2 separate regions of the Homo sapiens genome follow, and region 1 is linked to region 2. Evidence: promoter capture Hi-C in human tissues and cell types (Jung and others, 2019). All regions are on one chromosome and are shown on one strand. The core of a region is centred on a gene start or on the middle of the fragment in contact, and the rest is flanking DNA. Distances in the headings are between cores, read along the strand shown.

Evidence for each region. Contacts are between HindIII fragments. The study calls those that stand out against the background at their distance.
Region 1: a contact is called between a fragment that was not itself captured here and the fragment with the promoter of CCT5 in region 2, in 1 of the 25 tissues and cell types used here (dorsolateral prefrontal cortex).

Annotation. Positions count from the first base shown.
Region 1 is chr5:11,597,341-11,600,743 of GRCh38, forward strand. All of the region lies in intron 2 of CTNND2 (catenin delta 2), which reads right to left. Among named protein-coding and RNA genes, the nearest start is that of CTNND2, 310 kb to the right of the region's middle. The HindIII fragment of the contact is 5,530 bases long and covers 1-3,403 here.
Region 2 is chr5:10,249,030-10,252,330 of GRCh38, forward strand. It overlaps CCT5 (chaperonin containing TCP1 subunit 5), which reads left to right and starts at 1,251. Exons shown (of 11, transcript NM_012073.5): 1 at 1,251-1,416. The coding sequence starts at 1,312. ATPSCKMT (ATP synthase c subunit lysine N-methyltransferase) reads right to left here and starts at 859. Exons shown (of 5, transcript NM_199133.4): 1 at 829-859. The coding sequence starts at 844. RefSeq lists silencers at 629-748, 759-818, 1,569-1,638, 1,709-1,848, 2,179-2,401. The HindIII fragment of the contact is 7,315 bases long and covers 1-1,759 here.

The DNA of each region.
Region 1 (3,403 bases), core at 811-3,310, 1.3 Mb after region 2:
CTTTGTAAAGGTCTTAAATACTGAGTTTGCTCCCTTTATTACCCAGTCAATCTGGAATGAGATGATTCCTTGGTATTTCAAAGCTGCTGACATATCTGATGGACTGGATGAAAATTTAAGGCTCATTTAGCTCTACAGATTTATGTTATGTTCTCTATTTCTTGCTCTAAGCTTACAATTTGCCTTAGCCAATAATGTGCTTTTCTTAATTCATCAATGAGCAGTCCGAATTAGGGAATATTCTTTTTTTTTTTTGAAACAGAGTGTCAGTCACCCAGGCTTGTGTGCAGTGGTGTGATCACTGCTTACTGCAGCCTTAACCTCTCAGACTCAGGTGATCCTCCCACTGTAGCCTTCCAAGTAGATGGGACTACAGGTGTGGTCCACCATGCCCAGCTAATTTTTGTATTATTTGTAGAAAAGGATTTAGCCATGTTGCCCAAGCTGATCTCAAACACCTGGGCTCAAGTGATTCGTCTGCTCCGTACTGAGACTATGGGCATGAGCCACGAAGCCTGGCTTGGAATAGTCTTTGAAAATATAATAATAACAATGAAGATAAGTAGAGCTGGTATTTTATTGAGAAGTCAACTCACCACTGGATAATGAGGACAACTCATTTCCTATATCACTGAAATTACCCTTTTCCATATTCTCATGTGATAAAAATAGCTGTATTTTTGTTGTTGTTGTATCCAAAAAGCAGTTTAGCCTTAAAGTAAAATGTTATCATTGTTTCTGTGTACATCCAATGAGGCAAGTTATTATTATCTCATTTTATAAATGAGGAAACAGATTCAGAGAGGTTAAATAATTTGTCCAAAATCATGTTTGTGTTCTTAACCACTAGACAGACCTATCTATAATCATTTATAGTTTTAAGTTTGTCTTCTAGGAGCCATGGCTAACAACCACCACATCATGTTCTTATTGGGTTTGTATAATAATGATAAATCAGATTCTCCATCCCTCTACACCACAACCAAGGGGGATACGTGCTGATGAGGAGAAATTCCAGCTTCCTCAGAATCAGGTAAGTTTCTAGGTGTGCCAGGACTCCAGGGGGGTCTCCTACCCAGTAATCCCACTAAGCGATTCTTTACCACCATGGTTTTGTCAACCATTCTAAAGGTAATCAAGGTTGATATTGTATACACATTTTAAAATCCTTTATCTGATTACATTTAAATGGTATAGTGTTGTGCCTCCTTAAATAAGAGGAAACACCTATCACCTTTCTTTTCATTAAGCCTCCTATGAGAGGGTTTACAAGTTGAGGGAAAGGAGGAAGTGTCTATTTCTTATAGTCTTAATATACGAATTGAAGATGAAGAGCTGGGAAAATATATCTTCTCCATGAAAACTGATGAAAAATATGAGACTTAACCAAAAGATTTCACAAACAACTGTAAGTATAAAACTTTAATATTTATTATAGTGAAACTCATTAACAGCTGGGTCAGAAAACATGAAAAGGAAGTAAGCATCTTGTATTAGTGCATTCTCACGCTGCTATCAAGAACTACCTGAGACTGGGTAATCTATTAAAAAAAAGATGATTAATGGACTCACAGATATGCATGGCTGGGGAGCCTCAGGAAACTCACAATTACGTCAGAAGGCGAAGGGGAAGCAAGGCATGCCTTACATGGCAGCAGGAGAAAGAGAGTGAGCAAGCAGGGAACTGCCACACACTTTTAAACCATCAGATCTCATCAGATGTCAAGAGAACTCTATCACAAGACAGCACCAGGGAGATGGTGCTAAGGCATTTGAAACCACCCCCATGATCCAGTCATCTCCTACTAAGCCCCACCTTCAACACTTGGAAATTACAATTCCACATGAGATATGAGTGGGGACACAGATCCAAATCATAACACATCTAGAGCAACATCAAAAATGTATGGGACAATCTACTTAGGCAGTTCATGATAACATAGCAATATTTCCTGGAAAACTAAAAAAAATTAATAATAAGGGTTAAAGGAGGAAAGTTAACTATTCTAGTAAACTTCATCTTGAACAGGTATTTCATTTCTAATAGATGTTTTTGGAAGCTTGTGTCTTCTAGAACTTTTCTGTAGTTATAAATACATTTACACATATTTAATGACCATTTTTGGAGTTTTGAAAAAGTAACTCCTTTTGTGTATGAAATTTTGAAGTTGCCCGCAATAGTTCTTGCCATATATAGCATTTCTTCTCAAACATGACATCCATGACTGGCAAAGGATTTGGGTTTTTTTGCTTGTTTGTTTGCTTTTGCTAGTTCTTAAAATCCCAAACAAGTAGAACTTGTACTTATTCATGAGGTCCACGTAGATCAAAGGTTAGATTTATACCCGTGAGTACAATTCAGTGAAAAGTCAGGAAAATAGAAAAGTGATTGCGAAAATGGAGTTTAGACTTTCCCTTGGGGTTCTCAGACCAGGAAGCTTGCTATTCTGGTGATGAGAAATGGCACACTGATTTGGCTATCTAATTTCTTGAGAGTCTTATTGCATGCCCAGGAACCATAAAAGTGGAAGTTTCTTCTGCTCTTCTGTCGGCATTCTATGGCCATAGAGTTAATACTTGGGTTACACTCAGGAATCCGAGTTAAGAAGTGCCTCCAAAATGCATCAAGGTACCTACTTTTAGCAAGTCCCAAATATTGAGACCACAAATGGTCTTTATCCAATTCTAAAGCAAAACTATAAATATGGATCTGAATTTAAATTGTCTATGATTAAAATATGTGACTTAAATTTCCATTCCTCCATCTACCATCTAGAGTTTTCCTCAGCTGACACTGTCAGTGTTGGAGGCAATCACTGAAGTATTTACCTGCTTACAGAATTACATACCTATGCTAATACAGCAAGTGTGTGGACACACTGTTTTGTCAAGTATGGGAAAAACATTTGCTGACACCTAAATTCTAAGCAGTATGTGAAGTACACTAAAACTAAAAAAACAAAACAACAAAAAAAATTTTGTATTATATGTATCAACTATTTTCCACAGATATATTAAGTATATTGTGTGTTATAGGTGAACAATTGTACCAACATGTGTGCAAATTTTTTATATGAAGATTAGGCCAGGCATAGTGGCTCACGCCTGTAATCCCAGCACTTTGGGAGCCTGAGGCAGGTGGACCACTTGAAGTCAGGAGTTCGAGACCAGTTTGACCAACATAGTGAAACCCCATCTCTACTAAAAATAGAAAAATCAGCCCAGTGTGGTGGTGCATGCCTGTAATCCCAGCTACTTGGGAGGCTGAGACAAGAGAATTGCTTGAACCTGGGAGGCAGAGGTTCCAATAAGCCAAGATCACACCAATGCACTCCAGCCTGGGCAACAGAGCAAGATTCTGTCTCAAAAAAAAAAAAAAAAAAAAAATGAAGACTAGCCCAGG
Region 2 (3,301 bases), core at 1-2,500:
GACCTAGACGGGTACATCACTTGAGGTCAGCCGTTCGAGACCAGCCTGGCCACTACGGCGTTAACACCGTCTCTACTAAAAATACAAAAATTAGCGAGCGTGGTGGTTCTGTGCCTGTAGTCCCAGCTGCCTGGGAGGCTGAGGCACGAGAATCACTGGAACCCGGGAGGCGGAGGCTGCAGTGAGCCGAGACCGCGCCACTGCACTCCAGCCCGGGCTACAGTCTTGTCTCAAAAAAAAAAAAAAAAAAAAAGAGTGTGGGACCCATTGCATCAGGCTGTGTAACTGTTTCTTACTAGCTGTATACCAGTGGCAAGTTACTGAACCATTTGTGCAAAATGTTAATTTATTTACCAACACTGTGTTCAGCTTGCCAGGCACCGTTCTCCTTGAATCTCACAGCAGCCCTGTGAGTAGGCACTACTGTTACCACCGTCACTTTGCAGACAGGGAACCCGAGGGACAAAGAAGTTAAGGGATTTCCTCAAAGCCACAGCTAGGAAGAGCGGCAGAACTGCGATTCCAATCCATCAGTGTGCCTCCACTATCCCTATTCCTTAAGATCGTGCCAAAGGCTGAGTCACTTGCACTAAGTAGCCTAGAACAGTCTCTGGGGAAACGCGCCCGCCGACAAGGATCGCCAGAACCGGCGCGGGCACCGCGCGGCGACCAGGAGCTCTGGTCACCGAAGGCCAGGCTGGAGGCCAGAGCAGCCGCCCGCACCCGGTCACCGCCTCGACAGTGGAGACCTCAGCTGACCGCGAGCCCCCGGCCCGCCCGCACCCCTTCTCATGCCCCCAGGAACCCGCCAAGCCGCTCCAGCCTCACCTCCTCCTCCCTCCATCGCGAGATTTCCAACAGCGTTTTTAAAAAAAAAAAAAAAAAAAAAAAAAAAAAAAAAAAAACCGGAAATGGGTCCTACCATCTTCTCGGAGCCGGAGTGCGAAGAAATAAAGAAATAGTGCTTTAAGTCAATGAATTCCTCCTTGGGACCCACTATCGAGAAACTATCAGTGGTAACGTTTTAAAAAATGACAAATTCAATCTGCTCTTGACTTGTGTGTCCTAAGATTTCCACTAAGTGTCTTCAAACCTCCCCCTCCCCGGCTTCCTGGATAATAGAAGTTCCCGAAGGCCGCCGATTCCAGAAGATACTGTCTGGCGTGAAATTAGTCTCAGTAGAAACATAAGTCCCGCGCGTCTTGTGCTGCGCGTGCGCAAGCTTTTGGGCCCTCCCGAGAAAGGGAAGTGCATTCTCGCTTCCGTAGCGGTCTCCGCCGGTTGGGGGGAAGTAATTCCGGTTGTTGCACCATGGCGTCCATGGGGACCCTCGCCTTCGATGAATATGGGCGCCCTTTCCTCATCATCAAGGATCAGGACCGCAAGTCCCGTCTTATGGGACTTGAGGCCCTCAAGGTAATGGCACAGGGACCTGCTCGCGGTGGGCTAAGGGGAGGTGGCCGAGGCCGTGGCTCTGCGCCTGCGCGAGTTGAGGAGCGGCTCTGCCATGTGCTCCCCGGAAAGGTCGAGAATCTCCGTCTCCCTGCGGTCTCCGGCCGCTCAGCCCGCTTACTGAGCTCGGGAGACGCCGGCGCCTAATCCTGGGCTCGGAATGTGGGGGCCAGCCAGGCTGGGCCGCCAGCGCCCTTCGGAGCTGGGTGGGGCCGCTCAGTCCGGTCGCCCGCGGGAGCAAAGCGGGACCGCCTCCCCGCCCGGCTCCTCCAGCCTGACGGCCGCGTGGGACTGCGCTCCAGTGGGAGGGCGCCGGGGAGATGCTCTGTCACCTGTCGGTTAAGGCGCTGCTGCTTAACCTTTCGCTGGTCCACCCGCAACGGCCCTTCCGTTTTCTTTGTCACTCGTAAAGGTGTGGTCACTTAACAGGGTATTTCATTTCTGAGTGCTTTTTTGCCCACCCTTGAGGAAAAATAGCGAAGAGTGAAAAACGGACGCACATAACCGTAATACAAGGTGGTGTGCAGTGAGAAGGACAGCTACGGAGAGGGTGCACATAAGCGTGGTGCTGGAGGACAGCTTTAGATCGGGGTGAGAGGTAGCATTCTAGGGAGAGGAAACGGTAGAAGTAAAGGCTTGGGCAAGAATGCGCATGGCACGTTGTAGAATGGAAGAGCCATCCGGTTTTAATGGAGCACTGACTTCTTTAACTTACAATAGTTCCCGAAGGTGGAAGCTATTGAATGCCCAACATGGAAAATACGACGTTATCTTTGGGGAAGAAGGGGAGCCATTGAGGGGGTTTTGAGCAGAATTTCAGTAGAGCTGCACTTCAGGCAGCAAAGCTTGAGATAGACCGAAGGGAATAAGGAAGACCAGAGGGGTTAAAGAAACCAGGGCAGGGGTGCAGGTAAGAAACATCTGAGCACCAGACGTTGACAGAAAATGCAGAGGAAGGGACACTCCGAGAGGGCCTTCAGGGTTTGTTATAAAGTGAATTCATAATAGACCATTCCACTAGGTCTCTCAGGTGTCCCTGTTCACTTAGTGTCTTGGAGGTTTACTTACGCAAAGTTAGAAACAATACAGTTCCCCTATGGACTCTTTGTTTGACTTAGTGCTAGTTACACAACCTCGCGGAACCTCCTTTTCCAGGGGGAGGTGATAGGCCTCCGTCAAGCTGAAGACTTGACAGTGATATTAAATGGAGTGACTTAGAGGGGCTGCACAGTGGTTGATCCACGGTAGGCACTCAGTATTTGTTTCCTTTCTAGAAAGAAAAAGTTTCAAGCTAATTGTATTATGTATTCCATTTTATTTTCCACTTAACAGGGACCTGCAGAGAAAATAACATCCAATACACACACCTGGTGTAACAACATAACTAAAACTAGGTTGTTTTGCATCAGCCATTTTGTTCAAACTGCATGCATTTGTGCCCAGAAGTCGCACACTCTGAGACAGGGTTATTTTACAAAACTGGGGACTTGGGCCCAGAGCAGTTGAGAAATTGTTCTGAAGAGCAGTTGCTACTAAAGAGCATTACCATGGTCAGGGCCACCGCTGTCAGAGTCAAAGCCAGTGGTCTAGAGCAGCATTCTCAAGTTTGGCATATTGACATTCGAGGTCGGATCATTCTTTGCTGTGGGAGCTCATTTGGACAGTAACCTGGGTGTTTAAGTCTCTTAAAAGAGTTGGATGCTGTTGGTAGGCATCCTGTGAGTGTTGAGGCTCAGCAGTTTAGGGATATACACTTGCTCCCTGACCTCATAGAACGTCCAGCTAACTTGAAGAACCAAAATATATGGAAATTGAAGGCAACGGTAAAAGAAATGTATAGGCCAGGACG